2 separate regions of the Homo sapiens genome follow, and region 2 is linked to region 1. Evidence: promoter capture Hi-C in 16 types of primary human blood cells and fetal thymus (Javierre and others, 2016). All regions are on one chromosome and are shown on one strand. The core of a region is centred on a gene start or on the middle of the fragment in contact, and the rest is flanking DNA. Distances in the headings are between cores, read along the strand shown.

Region 1 (7,775 bases), core at 3,119-5,618:
ATCAAGCTACTGCACTCCATCCTGGATGAGAGAGCAAGACCCCATCTCTAAATATATACCCTGTCTCTAAATTTATAAATATGATAAAAAATACATAAATATATAAATTTCCTTCTTGCAGCTCCAGCTCTCAACAGAAGACTTTCTCACAGAGTAAATTGATATTAGCTGACTATAATGTCCATGTCTTCCTTCTACCAATCTAATGAAATTTCAGCACTGTCTGCTCCATACCTCCTGTTACTGTAAAGGAAATTATCTTTCTTCCCTATCCTTTCAGGAACCTCTATTATGGATTATCCCATCTCCTTGTCTTTCCAACAATTCCTTCGTTAAGATATCCTTACTGCCAATTCGTTGTGCTGAAGTCCCTCACGTAGTAAAACAAAAAACCCTTAATCCTGCTTTCTCTCCTCTAGTCTCTTCATAGCCAAAATTTTCTGCATTGAGTACTTTTTGTCTTCCTTCTTCCCATATTCAGCCTTTCCAGTCTATTTCACGCTTCAGTGGAAGCAACTCTCAATGTTACCTGATATCCATGTTGCTAAATCTTGTAGATGTCATTGGTCTTCATCTTGACCTCTTGGTAGCATTTGACCCTGTTGATCACTTTGTCCTTGAAGTATTTTGTTGTTGTTTTCAAGGCAACACAATTTCTGTGCTTTCCTTCCTCTGCCTTCCCTTCATATATACATATATTTGCTTTTCTCCCCCTACCCCTGTCCACTAAGTTTCCTTTGCTATACTTGATTAAAGTTCCTCAAGGATTGGCGCTCAGGCCTCTTTTTTCACTGCATCCACTTAAGGTTCTTTTTTTTTTTTGAGACAGAGTCTTGCTCTGTTGATCAGGCTGGAGTGCAGTGGTGTGATCATGGCTCACTGCAACCTCAGCCTCCCAAGTAGCTGGGATTACAGGCGAGCGCCACCACACCCAGCTAATTTTTTATATTTTTGGTAGAGATGGGGTTTCACTATGTTGGCCAGGCTGGTCTCGAACTCCTGACCTCAAACGATCTGCCTCCCAAAATTCTGTGATTACAGGCATGAGCCACTGCGCCTGGCCGCTCTTTTTTTTTTTTTTTTTTTTTTTTTTTTAACAGGGTCCTGCTCTGTTGCCTAGCTGGAGTGCAGTGCCACCCCCTCCCAGGCTCAGTCGATCCTTCCACATCAGCCACCCCTGACCCTGTCTACCCCTGCCCCGGAGTAGCTGGGACTACAGGTGCGTATGCCACCACGCCTGGGTAATTTTTGTATTTTTTGTAGAGACATGGTTTCACCATGTTGCCTATGATGGTCTTGAACTTTCTGGCCTCAAGCGATCGGCCCACTTTAGCCTTCCAAAGTGCTGGGATTACAGGTGTGAACCACTGTGTCTGGCTTTAAGTTTATTTTTCAACTCCTGTTACTTCGTTTACGGCATTAACTTGTAAATTTGTCACTAACCCACAATCTTTCCCTGGGCTCAAGACCCATATATACCACTCCTTACCTTAAAATTCATGTGTCCCCAACTGAACTTGCGTTGGATAGTATTAAATAGGACTTGTATTACCCAGTTTATCTTAGATTCTGCATTTGAATTTGTAACCCCAGGGAAATGGCCCTTTCCTACATCTCCAGCCCTTTTTAATGTCTATGCACAGGAGGCTGAGGCGGAAGGATTGCTTAAACCCGGGACGCAGAGGTTGCAGTGAGCCATGGTCACACCACTGCACTCCAGCCTGAGCAACAGAGCAAGACCCTGTCTCCAAAAATAAACAACACACCAAAAATTCTGCAGTTTCCCAAAGTCTACCTCAGAGTTTTCACACATTCTGATCCCTCTGCCTGGGGATGCTTTATTCCCTTCACCTAGTTAATTGCCTACTCGTCAGATATTAGCTCAAACCTCAGTTTCTCAGGAAAGCTCCTCATTCCCTCAGATTATTCACTCGTCTCAAATACATATTTATTGGTTTAATGTCTGCATAAAGTGTAAGCTCCATGAGGGCAGTGCCTTTGTCTCCTTTCCTGCTCTTTGGCTGAGGCCTAATATATTGACACAGTAGGTACTCAAGAAATATTTCTTGTATCACTGACTAAATTAGATTGAGATAAAGTAATATTGTGAATCAGTGGCTTACTACTTATTTTGTAGATAAAACAATTTACCCTGTCTTGAGATGGTAACTTCATTTTTTTTTGAAACGGAGTTTTGCTTTTGTTGCCCAGGCTGGCGTGCAATGGCGCGACCTTGGCTTCACCGCAACCTCCGCCTCCCGGGTTCAAGCGATTCTCCTGCCTCAGCCTCTCGAGTAGCTGGGATTACTGGTATGCACCACCATGCCCGGTTAATTTTTGTATTTCGAGTAGAGACGGGGTTTCTCCATGTTGGTCAGGCTAGTCTCGAACTCCCGACCTCAAGTGATCCACCTGCCTCGGGTTTCCAAAGTGCTGGGATTACAGGCATGAGTCACCGCGCCTGGCCAAGTAACTTCATTTTTATGGCTATGCCATTTCAGGTAGTGCTTCGTTGAGGCATCAAGACTCCACTGACCAGCTTTTTCACTTTATTGAATTACATAACCTTTTTTTTTTTTTTTTTTTTTTTTTTGAGACAATGTCTGACTCTGTAGCCCAGGCTGGAGTGTGCAGTGGTGCACTAGGCTCACGGCAACCTCCGCCTCCGGCTCAAACGATCCTCAGCCCCGTCCTCCGTACCAGGTGAGTAGCTGGGACCACAGGCGTACACCACCACGCCCAGCTAACTTTGTGTTATTATTATTATTTTAGTAGAGACGGTGTTTCGCCACGATGCCCAGGCTGGTCTGGAACTCTTGAACTCAAGTGATCCACCCGCCAAGGCCTCCAAAAGTGGTGGGATTACAGGCGAGATCTACCGTGCCTCAAATCACATAACCTTTTAATGTCTCAGTTTTGTGATCTACCAAATGGTATCCCACAGTAGCCGCCTCTCAAGGTTATTGTAGGGTTATGTGTAAACTGCTTATTGCATTGCCCACCTTATAGAAAGCACTCCATATTATAATCATTAACTGTGCTGGAAAATTCCCAACTCTCCAGATGCGGAGTTCTGCAAGGATGGTTGGGGAGAGAGTTGCAGCCAGATTAGGTCTCCAAACAATTTACTTAAGCCTCTGAAGGCCGGAGCTCAAATCCCTCCAACCCGGGTACCTAACCAGTACCTCAGTCCCAAGAGTGTATTGCATTCAGTCAAATTCACCAAAAGGCGGCGGTGGTCTTTAGGAAGGAAAAGGCTCGCGGTCCTCCGCCTCAACGACCCTCCTGCACAGAATTCCTGATTTTAAAAACCAGCTGGCCACTTTGGGAGGCCGAGGCGGGCGGATCACAAGGTCAGGAGATCGAGAGCATCCTGGCTAACACGGTGAAACCCCCGCCTCTATTAAAAATGCAAAAAGAAATTAGCCAGGCGTCGTGGCGGGCGCCTGTAGTCCCAGCTACTCCGGAGGCTGAGGCAGGAGAATGGCGTGAACCCGGGAGGCGGAGTTTGCAGTGAGCCGAGATCGCGCCACTGCACTCCAGCCTGGGTGACAGAGTGAGACTCCGTCTCAAAACAAAAAACAAAACAAAAAAAACAGCTGGCTGGGCGTGTAGGCTCACGCCCTTAATCCAATGCTGAGAGGCGGAGGCGGGAGCACTGCTTGAGCCAAGGAGTTCCAGACCAGCCTAGGCAAAATAACGAGACACCATCTCTACGGAAAAAATAAAAATAAAAAAGTTAGCTGGCCATGGTGGTGCGAGCCTGTAGTCCCAGCTACTGGGGAGGCTGAGGTGGGAGGATCCCTTGAGGATAGGAGTTCGAGGCTGCAATGAGCCATGATAACGCCAGCGCACTCCAACCTGAGCAACACAGTTTATTTATGATAAATAAATAAACATACCTAAATAAAAACCAGCCAAAATGGTATCGTTTTCCCTTTGTGGCCCCAATATCTGGCGCTTTCCACCATTCCTTGGCAAACAGAACAACCAGAGAGCATAAAAGTCGAGTCTAAGCCAGGGACTCTCGCGAATCCCTTCTAAGGCATACCCTATTTAAACTTTGTATTATGCTATTCAGGAGGTTGACAAACAGCCTTTTCGGGAATGGGACTCGAACTCGTAAGCCACGTCTGTTCCTCCATTTCCCGCCTCAGCTGGATGACGGAGAGGGATCTCCGGGATTAAAGAACAACGACCGCAGGCGAGTGCACGAGCGAGGTGCGCGCGCTGAGTAGGGGGAGGGGCCTGGCGCGCGCCGAACCAGATCGAGGGGGTGGGGGCGAGCTCTCTCGCGAGAGTGGGTTTGTTCTTGGGCTGCAGCCGCTGCCGCCGCTTCTCGCCAGCGCCGTTGCTGCGGGGGATTGTGGGAGTCTCCGCGTCCCGCTCGCTGGGAGAGAGGTACCTCTCCTTTTCCCTCTCCCTTTCCCTAAGGTAGGCGTGAAGCGGGTAAGAGTCGGGGTCGGGTGGCTGGGGGTTCTCCGTGTCCGCCGGGAGGGGACAACGACGGCGACAGGGGCTGCGGGGAGCCGGCGGCGCGCCTTTCTTGCTCGCTCCCGCTCTGCCTCCCTCCGCGTTGCGTATGTGAGCCGCCTGATCGGCGGCCGCCATGTTAGGAGCGCAGTGGCGGCGCAACCAGCCTTCTAGGGCGGCGGAGGTGAGCGGTCCGGGAGGGAAACACGCGGCCGGCCAAGGGCCCAGGGTGCGGCGGGAGATTTTGGGTGAAGAGGTGCGCTGACCGGCCGAGCTTCCTGCGCGTCCTGGGCTCGTTGTGGGCGGGGGCGGGACGACTAGCCCGTTACACGCGGGCCGCGGCGCTGAGGGGGAGGGAGGAGCTCGCTCGAGGCCTGAGGGACAGACTGTACACTGGGGGCTTGCCGTTTGAGGAGGATGGTTAAGATATCTAAGTCCTTGGGTAGCGCCAGTGCCAAATAACCCGTTCGCCTTTTTTTCTCTGAAAATGTTCCCCCAAAATGGAGGATTTCGCAGACTCTGAAGAGCCTGCTTGTTTGAGCAGCGTTTCTTTCTTTTCCCGGTGTCTCGGCCTTCACGCCGCTCCTTGCCCATCGCCTCAGAGCGCCCCCTAAGACTCCCGGCCCACACGCGCGCGCGCGCGCGGCGTTAGCTGGACATCAGAAACAATTCCTCCCCGCCCCCCATCGCGTAAAAATGGCCGAAAAATGAAACGTTAACGCTTGTTTTTCGTACTGCGTCGTGGAACAAGCCGCCTGCAGTACAGTGCGAGGCGGGTGATTTGCACTTGTTTAGTCAAGTCACCTCACATCCTTTTTCTCTTTATCAAAATAGTATTAGTCCAGGTTCCTCCAGAGAGGATCGTGTGGTGTGGGACCTTCCGGTTTCCAGACAAAGGGTTTTGGAGTACCGTGGTGTAGTCGCCGCATCGTTCTTTGCATTTCGAGCTCTGTGCCATGTTCTGTGTTCGGCATTTACCGTGGATGAATATCCCCTAGGTGTTTATCCTGCTCTGTGGCCCTGTTCTGTGGAATATTCCTATTGGATCAGTTACAGTTTTTTAGCCAGATATTTCTAGAACGGTTATGGTGGTTCTGAAATGGCTAGTCTTTCGGGCGCGCTGGAATAATGTGAAGAATCGTTGATTTCGTAGGTAGGGGTCACGAGATTTTGTATTGGTACTGCGTTCTGTGTTTTAAACCTTGGCTTAAGATTTCTGAATAGTCGGTAAAATACATTTTTCTCCCAGGGAAATCTAAACAGTTGACTATGCGGACAAAAATGATGTTTCAGGCTATTTTAATAAATGTTTAAAATTTCCCTTTAAAAACATTTCTTTACTAATGGCTCAGTCATCTACGCAGTCTATCGACGTTTTTCACAGTATTGTTTTAAAAATCAAGAAAGGCTTGACATTTTCGTTGCAAAAACGCTCTGGATGATGCCTTTTCCACTTAAATAGAATGTTTTTGCAAACTCGAAATTAAACAACATTAAAATACTGCATGAAGTTTCTTGGTTATGTAAGATTTGGAAAAGATCATTTAGCCAGATGTGTGTTGAAGTGCTTTAAATTTGTATTTCTTCCTTTGCACTTAACAGTATATACTTAGAACATTACTTTGTACTTTACCCAGAGAAGTTTCGCTTTATCATCTTTATATATTTTTCAGCCGTGTACAGCTTTTATATCACATTTTGAACTAACTTGGAAGGATTTAACTACCCTTGATCTGTGCATTTGTTTTAGTCTTTAAACATACTAATTTTTTTACTAATGCTTTTAGAGTTTGTAAACGCTAATATTACAAGTCAGTTAATGGTTTTTACTGAGGAGTGCAACGGTGGTGTCGTATTTTAGGAGCATCACGTAGTTCAAATCCCTAATTTTATAGAAGAGAAGGTTAAAGCCCAGATAGGTCGTGACCAGTTGCAAATAGTAGCAGTGCTGTCAGTGTGGTCTACAGAGGTCTTGGATCTTTTTTTTCTCTGAAACAGGATCGCTCTGTTGCCCAGACTGGAGTGCAGTGGTATGATCAGTGGCTCACGGCTCACAGCAGCCTCGACCTCCCAGGCTTAAGTAATCCTCCCACCTCAGCCTCCTGGGTAGCTGAGATCACAGGCGCGCGCCACCACACCAAGCTAATTTTTTGATCGTCTGTAGAGACGTGTTCTCACAATATGGCCCAGGCTGGTGTTGAACTCTCGGAGCTCTTAGATGTTGATTCAGACTCCTTCATAGTATAATAGGCTTAAAATGGAAAGACTGTGCGTACAGGAATTTATCCTAAGGAAGTAATGTGTCAGATTTGCGTATATAAATTTAATATCAGTTATTAAGAATTTTTTTTAAAATTAAATATTCAAGTTTTGGGAATCTGCTAATTCTGTTGTGAAAGTGGAAATCTATACAGCCACTTAAAACAGTATCGTAGGTGAAGAGTATGATGGGAAAATGGTAACGGTATACAGTTTTAACTGGAAAGGAAAATGTTGGAAAACTGCTAATGTCGTTTGATTGTTTTTTAAACGACAATGTAAACATGAAAATAGAGATATACCCCAAAATGTTTGCTCAGATGTTGGCATTGTTTACTCCCTGATGTTTTTCTGAATTTACCACGAGAAATAACATCAACTTTTGTAATGAGAGAAAAAAATGAAAAACATATTTTGTAAATACTGTAACTGCTTAAAATATTAGAGTCCTCTGTATTTTTAAGCGAAATTGGCATAGACAAACTAGCTGCTTCAAGTCTGAAGTGAAAAGTACTGAGAAGTGACAGAAAGTAGTGCTTGTGTAACATTTTGGATATTGGGTATAAGCAAACACAGGAATCAGAATATTCTTAGGCAAAAATGTTAAAATCATTATTATTGGAAATAGTACTAATTAGCTTACAATATGAATTGCAGCCAAAGAATTGAATAATGGTTAGATGTTCTTAGAACATCTTTTTGTTAGGGATACTTGATTTTATATATCTCCTTTAGTTAGAATTACAGTACAGCTATCCCACACTTCTGGCAACAGGTTCTAAAAGTGGATGATTGCGGCCAGTGGCCCGTGATCCCAGCACATTAGGAGGCCAAGGCGGGCGGATCATCTGAGGTAAAGAGTTCTGAGACCAGCTTGCCCAACATGGCGAAACCCCATTTCTACTAAAAATTACAAAAATTAGCCGGGCGTGGTGGCAGGCACCTGTAATGTAATCCCAGCTACTTGGGAGGGTGAGGGAGGAGAAATCACTTGAACCCAGGAGGCGGAGGTAGCAGTTAGCCGAGGTGGCGCCACTGCATTC
Region 2 (7,775 bases), core at 1,430-3,929, 510 kb before region 1:
TTATTATGTTACAAATGTGGAAGGAAGACTTTAAATACGGAAGATAAACTTCTTGAAACCTGCAGTTTTTATTTTTAGTAGAGATGGGGTTTCACTAGTTGCCCAGGCTGGTCTCAAACTCCCAAGCTCAAACAATCCGCCTGCCTCGGCCTGCCAGAGTGCTGGGATTGCAGGCATGAGCCACAGTGCCCGGCCTTGAAACCTGTAGTTGTGTGTTAGGTTTCTTTTCCAGTCGGAGAATTTCAACAATGATGTAGGTTTTTTAGGTTATTGGATATCAGCTAAGGTAAATCGAGCCCTGCTATTTACAGGTGCTTTACTAACCCTTGGGAGAACTTCATAGATCTTTCGTGCCTGATGGTAGATTGCATAGTCCAGAGTCTTATGTCAAATTCATCCCTGTGGCAGTACCCATAAATGGGCAGTGCCTTAGATGGAGATAACATCTCCAATTGTTTTCTGAATTTGTGAACAAATAACCTTCAATGGTAAATATTTTTTCAGTTTTCAGGCTGAAGATAAATATTTCTAATACTGAAAATGATGAAATTATTAGAATTCCACAGTACTAATTAGGCAGGTATATTAGTTTCCTAGGGCTTCTATAACATAAATTATTACAAGCTTGGTGGCTTAGAATAATAGAAATTTATTCTCTCATCATTCTGAAGGCCAGAAATCTGAAATCAAGGTGTTGGCAGGCTTGATTCCTTGTTGGGACTTAGGAAGAATCTGTGGATGCCTCTTTCCTAGCTTCTGGTGGTTGCCAGCAATTCTTAGCATTCCTTGGCTTGCAGACATGTTACTCCAGTCTCTGCCTTTGTTATCATATACTTTTCTTTTTTTGTGTCTCTGTGTCCAAGTTTCCCTCTTCTTATAAGGACATCAACCATTGAATTAGGGCCCACCTTAATCCAGTATAACCTCATCGTAACTTGATATCATCTGCAAAGACCCTGTTTCCAAATAAAGTTGCATTCACAGGTTCCAGGTGGACATGAATTTTTGGGCAATGCTATTCAACCCAGTACAGTGAGTTTTGAATTAATTAATTAATTTTTTTTTTTTTTTGAGACGGAGTCTCGCTCTGTCGCCCAGGCTGGAGTGCAGTGGCGGGATCTCGGCTCACTTCAAGCTCCGCCTCCCGGGTTCACGCCATTCTCCTGCCTCAGCCTCCCAAGTAGCTGGGACTACAGGCGCCCGCCACTACGCCCGGCTAATTTTTTGTATTTTTAGTAGAGACGGGGTTTCACTGTTTTAGCCGGGATGGTCTCGATCTCCTGACCTCGTGATCCGCCCGCCTCGGCCTCCCAAAGTGCTGGGATTACAGGCGTGAGCCATCGCGCCCGGCCTAATTTATTTTAAAGTAGTTTAATGGTCCAGTTCAGGACAGTTTTTGAGCTTGCTGTTGAGGAAATCAGGCTATTACTTAATTGTATTCTGTGGTACATTCTCCTCCCCAGCCCTTCTTGTCTTCTATAACGAAACTCACAATCATATTAACAGATGAGTTTGGGCAGTGTTTGCTGGCTCTAGTGACTGACGTTTCTTTTCTTTTCTTTCTTTTTTTGAGTTGGAGTCTTGCTCTGTCTCCCAGGCTGGGATGCAGTGGTGCGATCTTGGCTCACCGCAACCTCCACCTCCTGGGTTCAAGCGATTCTTCTGCCTCAGCTTCCCAAGTAGCTGGGATTACAGGCATATGCCACCACACCCAGCTAATTTTTGTATTTTTAGTATAGTATAGTGTAGTGTAGTGTAGTGTAGTATAGTATAGTATAGTATTGCCTTGTTGGCAGGCTCGTCTCGAACTCCTGACCTCAAGTGATCTGCTCGCCTTGGCCTCCCGAAGTGCTGGGATTACAGGCATGAGCCAGTGCGCCTGGCCACATTTATTTTTAAAATGCATTTAATTGTTGTAGGTAATTTTAATTTGACTTTATATGTTTCTTATTTCAGAAGTTTCTCCAGTGCAAATATGTAGCAATCATGGTATAATATACATTCCCTGCTCCCCAAACCCCCCACAATTTTGAATGCATATCTGAATTGCTTTTGTTATTTTTGTTTGTATATGATAATCTTTTATGTGGTTCTGAATCATAAGGACTTTTCTGTCCTAGTCCACTTTTGCAATTATTTATTATCATGACCTGTCCACCATAATTTGCCTTCTCTTTGGAAAAAAAGAGCCAAAACCAAAATATAACTTCCTCCCATCATCATTATTGCATCAGATATGAAAAGCTGAAATGCCTTACTTTTTTCTCTTGGCTTACTTTTTTCTTTGGAGAATCTTAACAAATGGTGATAAGATCTCTTTTCTATCATAAATAGAACAAAATACATATTACAAAAATATGAAGCACAGATTGCTTAATCAACTGAGACTTGTTGGCTATGTCGTTGAAGCCATTTACTCATCGTTTGAAACCCTGTAGTGGTGTTAATAGGTCTGCAGATTCTTTGGACACCCCTCCCTTAAAAAAAAATAGAGCCTAACCCTTGAACATGGGTTGAACTTAGTGATTCCTACAATGACTAGAATGTGGTAGAAGTGGTGCTATTTACTTTGGGAGCAAAGTTATAAAAATGGGGCCGTATCCACTCCACTTTTTCTCATGGATTATTCTGTCTGGGGGAAGCTGGCTGCTATGTCTTGAGTGCACTCAGGAGGTCCTGTGGAGAAGAACTGAAGTCTCCAACCATCAGTCAGCACACATTTGTCAAGCATGTGAGTGAACCACCTAGGAAGCAGATCCTCCACCTCCAGTCAAGTTTCAGACAACATCAGTCCTGACCAACCCCAAATCCCTGACCCATAGAAAACTCTGGGAGTTAATAATTGTTTTAAGCTGCCACCTCTTGGAATTTCTTAGGCAGCAAAAGAAAATTTATACAAACACTTTTCCCTGCCCTGGCTTCAGTGGTCCTGAGCATTTACGTAAAACCCTGACCTAACTTTTCTGAATTTTTCTGATAAATAAAAATATGCCATCCACTGAAACACTTAATTTTTAAAGGATTTTTAAGATGTCTTTGTTCTGAATCACTGTTGACGTTGTTTAGGATGGGGGTTGGTAAATTTCTTCTAGAAGGCCAGGTAATAAGTATTTTTGGCTTTTCTGATCATAAGGGCTCTGGGCTGGGTGCGATGGCTCACGCCTGTAATCCCAGCACTTTGGGAGGCCCAGTTGGGCGGATCACGAGGTCAGGAGATGAAAACTATCCTGGCTAACACGGTGAAACCCCGTCTCTACTAAAAATACAAAAAATTAGCCGGGCGTGTTGGTGGGCACCTGTATACCCAGCTGAGGCAGGAGAATGGCGTGAACCTGGGAGGCGGAGCTGGCAGTGAGCCGAGACCGTGCCACTGCACTCCAGCCTGGGTGACAGAGCGAGACTCCGTCTCCAAAAAAAAAAAAGGTCTCTGTTGAAACTATTAATATTCAGCTCTGCTGTTGATTTGGGAAGCAGCTATAGACAAGATATAAAGAAATGGTCATGGGGGATGGCTGTGTTCTAATAACATTTAGAAAAATTACAGGCTATAGTTTGCTAACCCTGATATAGGGTTTTCCCAGGCTGTTAAAGATATGAGCTTACTGTCTTCAAAAAGGTAGTTATTTATGTGTTTATTTATTATACTTTTGAGCCAAAAATTAGACCTTCTGTATCTTTGGGTTTGTACATGTCCATTGCTTCCCGTGCAATCATAATAACCAAAAGTTGGAATGTACACAGTTTTTGATGTGTAACTTTCTTTTTGTGTTAGACCCTGATTACATAAATAATGAATATGCACATTTGTGAGTATACTAAAATTTCACCATAATGCTGTAAGTGATGTTAAAAAAATTCACGTACATAAAAACAGGATCATTTGACTTCAAGGCTAATGAAATGGTCAGGTGAGCCACATGTGGTGGATAGGAGCCAGTCACCAATTGCATGGCTTCCAAATCTCTGTGATCTAAGAGTTTAATTGTACTACTAATCTGCTTCGTTTTTGAGTAGCTACCTTATATAGGCAGAGGTGTACATATGCCTCTTAGATGTGCTCTTTTCTTATTTTAGGATCCTGTTTACCTCCCGTATCCCCCCATCCTTATCAGATCAATCTTACCTTTGTTCTTTTTTGTCTTAGCGCTTATCACAGTGGTAATTTAAGTTGGTTGCCTTTTCCTCTCTACGCTCCAGCAGTGCAGGTTCTGTGCTGGTCTGGTGACCATTCTGTTTGTATCTATGATAGTACCTGGTCCGTGATAGGCACTTAAATGTTTGAGTAAGATAATTGATTATTCTCCGAGAAGTACAGTAAGAGAAAATGCTTTTTTCTCGAAATTTAAAGTGTGTTTTCCTTTCCAGTGCCAAATGTAAATGCATGGGTAGGGGTGGAGAATCTTATGTTTTTTTTAAAAAATTGAGATATAATTTCACATACCATAAAAATCACCCATTTAAAGTATACAATGCAGTGTTTTTTAGGGTATTCAGAGTTGTACAGCTATCACCATGATCTAATTCCAGGACATTTTTATCATCCCCCAAAAGAAACCTCATACTCATTAGCAGACATTCCCCATACATGTACATTTTAACAGTAGATAAAGAGTAGCAGCTGCCTTGTGGTACATAAATGTATTTTATGAATCCTTGAATAGGGCTCTGACCAGAAAAAGAAGCCTCTTAAGCCGGATAGGGGACTTTCAGGGGACAGAGATGAGAAGACCTAAATGAAGCTTTTTTGAAAAAGGAGAGATATTATGAACAGAGGCCCATTAATGTTAAATTTGAAGTGGAGTGATGAGGAACAGCTTCTTACTAGAACAGTGTTTTATAATCCATTAGCCACAATTTATACTTGGATCTCAAAGGCCAGGATCAGTATTATTGCTACTTCTGTAGCTTCTTCCCTATAGCTCATGGGCATTTCTGGGTCAGTGAAGGGGGAGAAGACCCAAAGAAACTGAAATCCACCTTTTTGTATTCCTGCACTGCTTCTAATCATATTTGCTCAGTAAAGGGGCCAAATAGATTATTCGTGCACTGAGCAACAGTAGATTTCCTAGGAAGAAGCTTGTGTCAGGGAAATATGAGTGAGGAATGGGCTGGTTGATAGTGTGTGGTCCCTGAGGGGGAGATGGTATTCTAGCACATAGGAGGCTGTTTTTCCTGTTTTTCCCCCCCCCCAGAGCTTATAATGATACATGAATACGAAAAATAATTAATAGCATGAGTGGCAGAGGAATGGGAGGATAAGCATGGGATTGGGAAAGTTAACTAAAGGTATTTGAGCTTGCACTGGATCTTGAAAGGTAGAAAAAGGGAGCAGGAGGAAACTCATCCAGGTAAGAAAAATAGACTGTGCAAGATGGGCATGAGAAACAGTGAGGTCCCTGGCTGGAGGTGGGTGCTAGTCATGTTGAGCACTGCTGGCAGGAGAGGTTTTTGTTTTGTTTTGTTTTTTGAGTTGGAGTCTTGCTCTGTCGTCCAGGCCGGAATGCAGTGGTGGTATCTTGGCTCGCTGCAACCTTCGCCTCCTGGGTTCAAGCAATTCTCCTGCCTCAGCCTCCTGAGTAGCTGGGACTACAGGCATGTGCCACCACACCTGGCTAATTTTTGTATTTTTAGTAGAGGTGGGGTTTTACCATATTGGCCAGGCTGGTCTCAAACTCCTGACCTCGTGATTCACCCACCTCGGCCTCCTAAAGTGTTAGGATTACAGGCGTGAGCCACCGCACCCGGCTGCAGGAGAGGTTTAATATAGTTTGGAGCATATTTAGAGGGTGGCTTGGAATGCCATGTGGCATTACATGGTTCAGGTCCCATATGCTTGAATGTATCAAGTGACACAGGACTCACTCACTACCTCAAGGGGGAGCTCTTTCCAGTATTGGTTTGTGTTTATTTTAAAAGCTTTTTTTTCCCCTTAGAAACTGAAATTTGTCTCTTGAATTTTCTTCCTGTTTTAAGAAGTTCCACCATCTGGGCAATACAGAATATGAGGAAAAGTGGAGTTTTTGCAGGGAGATTAGTGTTAGCTGTGTGCAGGAAGGGTTAAAGTGACTGGTAGACAGCCCAGAGGTAGGACCTAGAGTCTGGAGATGACCATAGTAGTGGGGAGTGAAATGGAGCTGTGCAGGAAGGGACTGCTATAACAGAATTGATGGAAAGAGAGAATTGGCCAGTTGTCATGCATGTTAACTGCCAGCAGGGCCTGTGCAAGTAGCTGATCTTTTCAGTAGGTAAAACTAAGGGACCTGGTATGTGAAAAGTTGTAGTAATTTATTTTCCTGTGACTTGAGGCATTTAGGGTGGTGTTGAGGCAGCATGTGCTGCTAAGAACCTGTGTTCTTACAGGTGTAAAATGCTGCCTTTTAAAATGTTTGCATTATTTGCTTGTAATGGATGTCAAACCTTATTTTGTGTTCATTAATCACACGTATTAATGTTTATTAATACATCTGAAACATGTTATTTGTGTGAGTTCCTATGGCAATGATAAGTATTGGTAAACATTAGTGCTCCTTTCTCTGTTGATTTGTTGAAGCCCTGTTATTTTTCTTTTTAATTGGAATTCCACCAAGTTTTCAAAAATTGAGACATGGCTCATTGGGCTGGAGATGCTGATCTTTTAGATTTCTCTTTACTAATCTAATGGCATAGCAGAGGTTAAATTACCTTGGAGTAGAAAATCAAGAAATGATTGTGTGTGTCTGCAATTTTGGTTTTAATGGTAGGACAAGATTATGGTAGTCTGGGAAAAGGTGATTGAGTGCTGCTGAACAGAGCAAGGATTGATTGTAGCTAAGTCTAGTGACTTACTGCCTGCCATTTGGTTTGACCTTCATTTTGTGACTATCGTACCACTAACCACAGCCAGTCACCTCTCATGTATGTGTTGTTATTCTCATGGCAAACACTGTGAAAACCTCTGGGTAATTCACTGCAGCCTCTTCTTCAGTGCTGAAAAAACATTTTATAGTGACAACTATACATCCTTTGTCCCCCAGATGGCCAGAAGGTGAAGATAGAGTAAGTTCTTTTACTAAATATTCCTGTCCATAAATAAAAAGCAGACATCTTAATGTTTGGCTTACAGTTTTTTCCCCTTTCATATCTATTTATGTTTAGACAGATTTGTCTTAAGATTTCTTTGAAACGTTTCTTTTTAGGTTTTGGCTTTCAGGTCATTCCATTTCAGGCAAACTTTGATACTGCGAATGCATTTTCCTTGAGTAGAAGATCTCAACTTACTGAAAGCAGTCAGTGTTGTTAAGTACTAAATCTCAATCATTACATAAATCATCTTTTATGTAAAAAATGTCGGCCGGGTGCGGTGGCTCATGTCTGTAATCCCAGCACTTTGGGAGGCCGAGGCGGGCAGATCACGAGGTCAGGAGATGAAGACCCTCCTGGCCAACATGGTGAAACCCCGTCTCTACTAAAATACAAAAAATTAGCCAGGCGTGGTGGCACGTGCCTGTAGTCCCAGCTACTTGGGAGGCTGAGGCAGGGGAATTGCTTGAGCCCGGAAGGCAGAGGTTGCAGTGAGCTGAGATTGCACCGCTGTGCTCCAGTCTGGAGACAGAGCAAGACTCCGTCTCAAAAAAAAAAAAAAAAAAAAAAAAAAAGGGTCTTGTTAGTTTTAGAACAAGAAAGGAGTATTTATTGTCTGCTAACACAATAGTTAACATCTGTGAGTTTGCAAGCATCTGGGTAATCTTAGTACCTATAGTTGATTTGTGAGCATACTCTAATGGTACTTGTTTTCT

What was found. The method cuts DNA at HindIII sites, captures the fragments that hold promoters and counts their contacts. A CHiCAGO score of 5 or more calls a contact.
Region 2: a contact is called between a fragment that was not itself captured here and the fragment with the promoter of MATR3 in region 1, in 1 of 17 cell types (M1 macrophages). The highest score is 5.8, in M1 macrophages.

Annotation. Positions count from the first base shown.
Region 1 is chr5:139,289,372-139,297,146 of GRCh38, forward strand. MATR3 (matrin 3) reads left to right here and starts at 4,369. Exons shown (of 15, transcript NM_018834.6): 1 at 4,369-4,434. It overlaps LOC124901081 (a long non-coding RNA gene), which reads right to left and starts at 4,186. Exons shown (of 4, transcript XR_007058956.1): 1 at 3,903-4,186. RefSeq lists enhancers at 4,441-5,144, 5,145-5,847. The HindIII fragment of the contact is 8,607 bases long and covers 1-7,775 here.
Region 2 is chr5:138,784,009-138,791,783 of GRCh38, forward strand. The region is part of intron 3 of CTNNA1 (catenin alpha 1); the gene reads left to right. Among named protein-coding and RNA genes, the nearest start is that of CTNNA1-AS1, 34 kb to the left of the region's middle. RefSeq lists an enhancer at 5,914-6,083. The HindIII fragment of the contact is 4,115 bases long and covers 623-4,737 here.